Regions from separate parts of the Homo sapiens genome. Here region 2 is linked to region 1. Evidence: promoter capture Hi-C in 16 types of primary human blood cells and fetal thymus (Javierre and others, 2016). All regions are on one chromosome and are shown on one strand. Each heading gives the region's core, a stretch centred on a gene start or on the middle of the fragment in contact. The rest is flanking DNA. Distances are from core to core; before and after follow the strand shown.

What was found. Contacts are between HindIII fragments. The CHiCAGO score rates a contact against its expected background, and 5 or more counts as called.
Region 2: a contact is called between a fragment that was not itself captured here and the fragment with the promoter of CACNA2D2 in region 1, in 1 of 17 cell types (total B cells). The highest score is 5.2, in total B cells.

What each region holds. Positions count from the first base shown.
Region 1 is chr3:50,500,934-50,505,577 of GRCh38, reverse strand. CACNA2D2 (calcium voltage-gated channel auxiliary subunit alpha2delta 2) reads left to right here and starts at 1,944. Exons shown (of 38, transcript NM_006030.4): 1 at 1,944-2,360. The coding sequence starts at 2,155. RefSeq lists enhancers at 816-1,324, 1,325-1,833. The HindIII fragment of the contact is 14,978 bases long and covers 1-4,644 here.
Region 2 is chr3:51,368,059-51,372,958 of GRCh38, reverse strand. All of the region lies in intron 49 of DOCK3 (dedicator of cytokinesis 3), which reads right to left. Among named protein-coding and RNA genes, the nearest start is that of MANF, 15 kb to the left of the region's middle. The HindIII fragment of the contact is 1,173 bases long and covers 2,385-3,557 here.

The DNA of each region.
Region 1 (4,644 bases), core at 695-3,194:
CTGACTTCATGTGCCTGACGGCCTGGGCACTTTGGGGATAGCGTTGCTACCCTGGTGTTGGAGGGCAGGGAGGCTGGCCCTCACATTTCTCAGGCCACTGCAGAGTCTGCCTTGGGAAGGCGCCCACCCCCGACAGGGCACCCAAGAGGAATGATGTCCTTTATGATGGTCCCCTGGGGCCATGGGCACAGGTATTATATGTCCAGCAAACAGGTAAGAGAGGATATCACAGGCCAGCCCTACCTTGGGCATGAGGAAGACAGAGATGCTGGGAACAGGTCTCAGCAGGCAGGGCTGGGAAGGCAGCTGTTGAGCTCACGCTTGTCGACTCCTGAGCAGGACCCCTGCCCCCCTGCCCTCCCATTGTGTCCAGAGGTGGCAGGGGGGCAACTGGCTCAGTGAGGACCCTGCTTGTCCCCCCAAAGAGCTGGACTATCGTCTCCCATAGTCCATCAGGTCCCACCTGTCCACCAGGCCCCTGGCCCCTGCGTTGCCTTCCTCTGATACTTTTTTTGGGGTCTCATGGTTTGGGATCTGCTGGCAAACCTGTCTGGCCCCTGAAGGCTCATTCAGGTCAAGGGAGGAGGACACTTCAAGAAATGAAGGAAACTGTTCCCTGTCAAGCCCTGGTTTGCTGGGATTGGAGAAGCCAAGGCAGGACTAGGCAGCAAGGGAAGGCTGTCCTAGGCCCTATTTCCAGCCCCTACCCCTACCCTTTTCAGTCCAGGGGCTACTATTCCCTTTCAACTGCAAGCCCTCCTTGGGCTGACTTGTGAGTGGGTGATAGGAGAGCCACTGATACCATGAGGTGGGGCATCTGGACATTTCCGAACCATCCTGCCCAGCTGGTTACTATCCCTCATTCCTCGTGATAGGCCAGGTCTGTGGGCAGTTATTGCTGAGGGGGTCCTGCCCTGTGTCAAGTTGGTGGGGAGCATTCTCTCATCCTATCTGCACCAGAGGCAGAGCTGGGTTCCAGGGTAACTTCAGTAGAATCCTAGGGATGGTCTCCCCTCATTGTGAATGCTTCAGTTTACCAAGAGATTCTCCCCATTCTCACTTCATCCTGGAAATGGGAGTGGGCACCCACACAAGCATTCACAAGCGAGGACACTGAGGCTCTGAAAGGGCCACAAGCTGTGGAGTCAAGGTTGACACCAGCCCCAGTCTTCTGCCCACAGCAGGGAAGAGCCAGGGGCCTCCAGGACAGAAAGGACTGGGTTGTGCAGAGATGAGCTTCCTGGCTCTGGAAGAATCTAAACAGAGGCTGTGCAAACTCCGGGAACTGGGGCTTGGGACAGGCCTGCACACAGTGCCTGTTCAGCCCAGGGAAGCGAAGCGAGTGGCTGCAGAGGGCTGCATCCTGCCGTCCCCAGCCCCCCACAACCGTACAGCCGTGCCCAGGTTTCCGCTTAGGGAACCAGGAGGTCCAGGCCCTTTCTGCCAGCAGCCGGGCGTGCAAGCCCCCGACAGAGAGAAATCTTAAAGATAGCTAGAGCCACGGGGGCTGTAAGTTCAGCATGCCTCCTTTTCTGGTCTCCGCTGAAGCTGTCACTCCACCATTAAACCTGTGACTCTAGGCCTTAAGCCTGTTGAAGGTCGAGCCCCCAAAAGGGTCACATATGCTCCTGCCTTGGGCCGCGGGGCCCGGGACTCTTCCCGCGGGTGGGGTGGGGAGGAGCGGCAGGGTCTGAGGTGTGGGGGCGGGGGCGCACCCGGGGCGCTCGGGTAGCAGCTGGGGCGCAGGACGCCCGAGCCAGTAGGGCAGGATTCGGGCTGCGCGGGGACGAGAGGCGCGCGGGCACGGGTGGGCGCGTGGCCGCGGCGGGGGCGCGCGGGGGCGGGCCAGCCCGGGAAGAGAGAGGGAGGGAGGGAGAGAAGAGGGCGGTGCCGGCAGGTTGGCGGCGGCTGCTATTTGAGCGCAGGTCCCGGGCCGGGCGCTCAGAGCGCTTGGAGCCAGCGCTGCAGGGAGATAGCAGCGCGCAGCCCGCAGAGGCGCTGCGGCCCGTGCAGCCCCGGAGGCCCCTCGCGGAGAAGGCGGCGGCGGAGGAGAGGCCGAGTTACCGCCCGCCGCCCGCGCCCCCCCAACCCCGCCGCCGCCGCCGCCGCCGCCACTGCCCCCCCTCCCCGCGGCGCCGCATCTTGAATGGAAACATGGCGGTGCCGGCTCGGACCTGCGGCGCCTCTCGGCCCGGCCCAGCGCGGACTGCGCGCCCCTGGCCCGGCTGCGGCCCCCACCCTGGCCCCGGCACCCGGCGCCCGACGTCCGGGCCCCCGCGCCCGCTGTGGCTGCTGCTGCCGCTTCTACCGCTGCTCGCCGCCCCCGGCGCCTCTGCCTACAGCTTCCCCCAGCAGCACACGTAAGTGGCCTCGGCCGGCCGCGAGACCCCGGCCGAGCCTTGCGCCCCGCTCTGCCCCCGGTCCGCGCTACTCCTTCCCTGCGCTCCGCGCCAGGGCAGAGGCGCTGGGTCCGGCTGCCCGCTGCGCCCGGGGGCGACGGCCCCAAGCCCCGAAGGCTGGCAGCCGCGGTCCCGGCGCTCTGGCTGCGTCGCGAAACTTCCCCGCGGTGCCCCTGCTTCCCCCAAATCCCCCGAATGAGGCAAGGCAAGATCTTCAAGCCCCGGGAGGAGTTGGGGGGGGGCGGTCCGAGCTTGTCAGCTGATTCCCCTGCCGCTGACCCGGTGAGAGGGAAACCCGGGTTGGGTGAGAGGGGCGGCCAGCGACCCCTGTCCGGCGGAGTTGGAGCCGCGCATCTGCCCCACGTTCCCTCCCTGGTGGGAATCCGGCGCTTTACAGCCAGAGGTGAGGGACATCTCCACACCTGCCTTCAAGGGCCTTTTCCTTTAGTGGGGAGCTGTATGCTGATGATGCGAGCACCTTCTTGCTGTGGCCAGTGCCACAGAGGCAGTGTCCCCTGTTCTTGGCCCCCCTCCACCTGAGGAGAGAGTACCCTGGAGAGCCCAGTTGGGAGGTGAAGGCGTTGGGGTCCGGGCAGAAGGTGAATGGTGGGAAGGACCCCTGCCTGCGCCTGCTGCTGCTGCCAACAGAGTAATAGCTTCTCCTGGCTCTGCCAGCCTCCGCAGGTTTTTTGGTCCTTCTGAGCCTTCTCCTCCTCCCCAAGAGCCAGCAAACTCGGGCTGCCTCCTACGGGTGAGCTTAGCCAGATGTGTCTGGGGCTGGGAGTGGATGTTCAGTGCATGTGGCCTTTAGGACGTATCAGTTTCCTGACACTGTGCTTCAGCCCTATGTCAGTGCCCAGACCCCCTTTGGGGCACGGTGACCACCTTGCTTCTGTTATCTGTCTCCGGGTCTGAGGAGCCACCTGTCCCTGGACTCCTTCACCAGTGTCCTGGCCTGGAGACTGGGGCATGAGTCGTCGGGCTGCTGGTGGCCAAGGGGAAGGGTCTGGCCTCGGGGAAAGGGAGAGGCTGGCTCTGCGTCATTTAAACCAGCTCTGCCCAAGGGTAAGAGCCCCTGGTTCTGCCACAAAACCTGCCGACTCCAGTTCGTAGGCTCTCTAAGATGAGGGAAAAACAAACTCAGGAAAACCGCCTCTCTGGGTCTCTCTCTCCGTCTTGTCGTCTCTCTCATTGCACAGCCTGGCTGTGCTCAGGCAGGTGATCAGTTGGCAAATTACAAGTGCCGCACGGACGTGTCCTCTGTCAACCGTCTGGATTTTTCACATGTGTGTTTGGGGGTTGCCCAGGGAGAAAAGAATCGAATGGAAGTTCAGGGCTGGTGGATGCGTTATTGTCTTTCATTTGCCGTGATGGAAATGGACTTCAATCATAGTGCTTAAAAAAAGCAAAAGCATTATTTTTTTGTTGTTCTTTCTTCCTCAAAGCCAAGCACGAGCCAAGCCACAATTATTTTTTTCTTAGCCGTTTCATAGCTCCTTGAGTGAAGGTTTAAGTGGATGTCTCTTTCCACCTCTCCCGACCTCACTCCCTTTCCCTGCAACGTGCAGTTGGTCAGATGGCTTCTGGGCCTGCACGAGTCTCCTCTAGAAGGCCGATGTGAGAACCTGACCAGAGTAGGCACCTATCCCTCTGTCCCCAGCCAGAAGATGGCGAGGCGGGTGTGACGGCAGCGACACACTTCCAGCTGGACGCTGTTGTCGATATAGTTGGAGCTAATTTGGGGGTTTGGGACATGTCTTGCAAACTGTAATTAGAGAATGAGGGTGGGGGTGGGGTGGGGGCTGTGCCGCTCTGAGGGTCCAGGGGGAGGTGACTAATGGTACAACAACACAGAGGGTTTGCTGTGACAGCCAGTGCCCTTCAGCTGCCCTGGTCCCGCAGACGAGGATGCACATTGATCCTTGGAGGGAGGAAGGGGCCCACACATGACCATGGCCAGTGGAATTGGTGCTTTTGTTGAACTGGTAAGAAAGGTTTAGGCTGTTGTTCGGGCCAGAAGGTTCTGTGGGGCTGCTCAGGGATGGGTGACCTCCCAGAACCTTCTGCTGGGTCAGTGTGGCCAGGCTGGGATGACACTTTGATACAGGTGGATTTCCAAGGAGGAGAGTGGAACCCAGCTTCATGGCACTGGAGTGACAACCCCTCAGTGGGGAAGGCCCCTGATGAGCAAGTCATTTTCTCATTAGTGTCTGCCAGTGCACAGGGGCCCAGCTTCACAAGCTGC
Region 2 (4,900 bases), core at 1,722-4,221, 870 kb before region 1:
TATGATTTTTAAAACTCGACCTGAATTGCTATTTTGTGATTTTACTGGTTTCTATGTTCTCTTTTAGAACCTGTACTCTTAGGCAACCTCAAGAAGATGGCTATGTAAAGAGAAATGAAAAAAGCACCTATTCTCACTGACCAATATAGTGCTTTCCCAGCAAGAAACTCTCAGAATGCTTCCTGAGCATTGCAGCCCACAGCTCTAGACAGGACTACTCTCTGTTCAGTATGCACCGGAAAACACACAGCACCTTTAGACCAACTCAGTAACATCAAACCCATATCTAATGCCCATTCCACACCAAGCATGTGATTGGAACCTGGTATACTGTCTTGCTCAGGTTGTCCGTGGTCTCTCACCTCGTGGAGCTCACAGCCTGGCTCATAAAGAAAACCCCACATCTGCATACTCAATATCCTGATCCGTGTGAGGGGGTTAGGATGGAGATATAGCAGCCTGAAGGCTGTAGCCAGGGCTCAGGGGCTCTGCTGAAGATTCAGACTCATGTTATGGTGGTCTCTCTGGGCTATGGTGGCCACAAAGGGGTGCTCTGTGCCACCACTAAAATTTTTAACTCTACCACTTCACTTCCCTCCCCCTGCCCTCTGCCCTGGGCAGCCAATCCCATGGTAGGAGAAGGTGATGGTTACTTTTCATGAAAACATTTGAACAACACAAGGGTTTCTGTGTTCATGGGACTTCTGAATTATGTGAGTTGTAGTCTAGTAAACCCCAGTGTCAACGAATTACTTAAGGATTATTCAAAATCCCTGTTTCCTAGCTCCAATCAGCCTTTTGATCAGCAGGGGGAGCTGTCAACTCACAAGAGTTTAGGTGAAAAAAGCACCTATTCTCATTGACCGATACAGTGCTTTCCCAGCAAGAAACTCTCAGAATGCTTCCTGAGCATTGCAGCCCACAGCTCTAGACAGGACTACTCTCTGTTCAGTATGCACCGAAAAACACACAGCACCTTTAGACCAACTCAGTAACATCAAACCCATATCTAATGCCCATTCCACACCAAGCATGTGATTGGAACCTTGTATACTGTCTTGCTCAGGTTGTCCGTGGTCTCTCACCTCATGGAGCTCACAGCCTGGCTCATAAAGAAAACCCCACATCTGCATACTCAATATCCTGATCCGTGTGAGGGGCCTTGCAGGCCATTCCTCTCAGACATTTCCAAAGCAACAGGAATCACAGCAGTGTCCATGGGTATGGCAAGGAAGACCACTGGTCTCATGACCACTCTTGGGAGTGGGGGAAGTAACCCCAATGCAAAGGCTTCCCTCAAGATCACCTTTACGAAAGCTTTCCCCTCCCTGGTAATACCAAACACAAACTTCAAACAGAGTGGACTGTTTCCTCCCTTCTTTGCCCAGAGTGTATCTACTACAACATCTATTACATACATTTGAAAGTATCAGTCTTTCTCTATGATGCCATGTCACACAGACCCTTCTATTTTGTCTCCCAGGGCCTAACACTGTGCTTGATAGATGTAGGACCTGCACCTTTCTCCAGATGAGCCTGCACATGGATGGTATGGAAGTTGTGGTCTAGAAGGGACTTGCTTTCTTTCTTACTGCCTCTGATCTTGTCACTGTTCTCTTTGGGCCCAGTTCTGTTTAACCATTTTGTTTATTTTTGCACTTAATGTTTACCCCCAAAAGGGAAGGGGCTTCTCTCAGCCTTCCTCTGTGTGATATTCTGGAGTTTGGCCATTGTGACAGCTCATCTCCAAAAATGGTGACCATCAACACCTTCTGTCCCAAAACACACACACCATTCCTTACAACATGAGGTGTAATCTCATTCCTCTTTCTGGTATCTGGGTTGACATTAGTGACTTGAGGAGACTAGAAACGTGGGGACTTCCTGGGACATCCAAGGCTGGGTAAAAACGAGCCTTGAGGCTTCTTCCTGGGTCTCTTGGAATGCTTTCTCTGGGGAAAATCAGCTGCCATGCTGTGAGAAGCCTAAGTCACATGGAAAGGTCATATGTAGGAGCTCAAGTTGACAGCCCCAGTCGCACCCCAAGCTGACCACCAGCATCAATTGCCAGCCATGTATGTGAGCCATCTCGAATATCTAGCCCACCTGAGCTTTTAGATGATTCCAGCCAGTGACATCTGACACCAAGTGAGAATTGCTCAGTGAGCCCTGTAAACCCACAGAATAAGAGATGATAATAGATTGTTTTAAGAAGTTTTGGGGGTGGCTTATTATGCAGCAACAGATAACCAAGCCATTTGAAGTAAAAATGAGTTATTTCCAGACAAGAAGATAATTTCTCTCTATTCAGCACTGACATAGTGCACCACCTGCCCCCGTGGCAAGAGCCATGCAGGTTCCTCACTGAGCATTCAGTAAAAGCTTGATAAGTGAATAAATCAGTCAACGGCTGGAAGGAAAAGGTGGTAACCGCCAGCCTGTGAGGTCCCCAAGAGCAGGGCCTGCTTATTCCTCCTCTTTCTTCTTTTCAGGACACTAAGTATCTGGAACAGCCTAGAGGAAGTGTCTGACCAATGTCAGAGTGCATTTGAGTTCAAATGTCCATCCTTGGTTGCCTTCTGTGTTTATCAATCATCATGATTCAGAGATCTGTCCTCAGCAAGAATACCAGATAAAGTCTTAGATATGTCAGAACATATCTTAGAGACGCTTTAGGTTAGGGAAAAAAACAAAACCAGAAGGGATTACAGAAACTGTTTCTGCAGCTCTATTCAGGACTATTTACCTGAAGACACTATAAATGCCAACCTTGACTGTGGCACTCATGGCTCAGGGTTTCTTTTCTTTTTATTCCCAAGGCCGTCTTTCAGTGTGCCTTCTTGATAACACATATCACTGCTCCTTCTCTATGTCTGCAGCTTTCACATACTGACAAATCTTCAGCATGCACCGATCTTTTGGTTCATTTGTCCTATTTAGTACTAGAAATGTCTGCTTTCAAATGCTGGCTCCCCTTTTCTGACCTCAGAGTCCATGCTAGGGAGGCAATATGGGCAGTGGAATGGGCATGAGAGTGAGGGCTGGTGAGTGTAAAGATCTGTGCCCCAAACTTAGCTTGGCTGTGAACTGGCTAGGTGGCCTTAATTCCCTTGCCCTGGAAATGAGGGCTTGGTCTGAATACTTCAGGTGAAGTCTGACTGTGCCTGCTGCAACCTTACTCCACTTCCCTCTACAATCTGCCAAGGCTTTTCCCAGGTGGTCACTGCATCTTTTCACTGTGCCATACAGCAGTCACTCCTACTGTGGGCTTCTCTCCATCACTCCTACTGTGGGCTTCTCTCCATCACTCCTACTGTGGGCTTCATGGGTTTGTGTGCTTTAGAGAGCTTCTTTTCTTAATGACTTCCCAAGTCATACATTTGTGCTATTACACCAATCAGACGTAGATTTTCACATAGTCCCATATTTCTTGGGGGCTTTGTTCATTTCTTTTTACTCTTTTTTCTCTAAACTTCTCTTTTCGCTTCATTTTCATTCATTTGATCTTCAATCACTGATACCCTTTCTTCCAGTTGATCGAATCGGCTACTGAAGCTTGTGCATGCATCACGTCACTCTCATGCCATGGTTTTCAGCTCCATCAGGTCATTTAAGGACTTCTCTACACTGTTTATTCTAGTTAGCCATTCATCTACTCTTTTTTCAAGGTTTTTAGCTTCTTTGCAATGGGTTCAAACATCCTCCTTTAGCTCGGATAAGTTTGTCATTACCGATCATCTGAAGCCTTCTTCTCTCAACTTGTCAAAGTCATTCTCCATCCAGCTTTGTTCCATTGCTGGCGAGGAGCTGCGTTCCTTTGGAGGAGAAGTGCTCTGATTTTTAGAATTTTCAGCTTTTCTGCTTTGGTTTCTCCCCATCTTTGTGGTTTTATCTACCTTTGGTCTTTGATAATGGTGACGTACAGATGGGGTTTTTGTGTGCATGTCCTTTCTGTTTGTTAGTTTTCCTTCTAACAGTCAGGACCCTCAGCTGCAGGTCTGTTGGAGTTTGATGGAGGTCCACTCCAGACCCTGTTTGCCTGGGTATCAACAGTGGACGCTGCAGAACAGCAAATGTTGCTTTCTGATCCTTCACTCTGGAAGCTTTGTCTCAGAGGGGCACCCTGCCATATGAGGTGTCAGTCGCCCCCTACTGGGAGGTGCCTCCCAGTTAGGCTCCTGAGGGTTCAGGGACCCACTTGAGGAGGCAGTCTGTCCGTTCTCAGATCTTAAACTCCATGCTGGGAGAACCACTACTCTCTTCAAAGCTGTCAGACAGGGACGTTTAAGTCTGCAGAAGTTTCTGCTGCCTTTTGTTCAGCTATGCCCTGCCCCCAGAGGTGGAGGCTACAGAGGCAGGCAGCCCTCCTTGAGCTGCAGTGGGCTCCACCCAGTTCGAGCTTCCCAGCCGCTTTGTTTACCTACTCAAGCCTCAGCAATGGCGGATGCCCCTCCCACAGCCTCACTGCCTCCTTGCAGTTCAATCTCAGACTGCTGTGCTAGCAGTGAGAGAGGCTCCATGGGTGTGGGATCCCCTGAGTCAGGCGCAGGATATAATCTCCTGGTGAGCCCTTTGCTAAGGCCACTGGAAAAGCGCAGTATTAGGGTGGGAGTGTCCCGATTTTCCAGGTACCATCTGTCACGGCTTCCCTTTGCTAGGAAAGGTAACTCCCCGACCCCTTGCATTTCCTGGGTGAGGCAATGCCCCGCCCTGCTCCGTGGGCTGCACCCAGTGTCTGACAAGCCCCTGTGAAATGAACCCAGTACCTCAGTTGGAAATGCAGAAATCACCTGTCTTCTGTGTCAGTCACACTGGGAGCTGCAGACTCGTTGTGTTCCTATTCATGATGGGGAGAATGGAACCAAATTGGAAAACACTCTTCAGGATATTATCCAGGAGA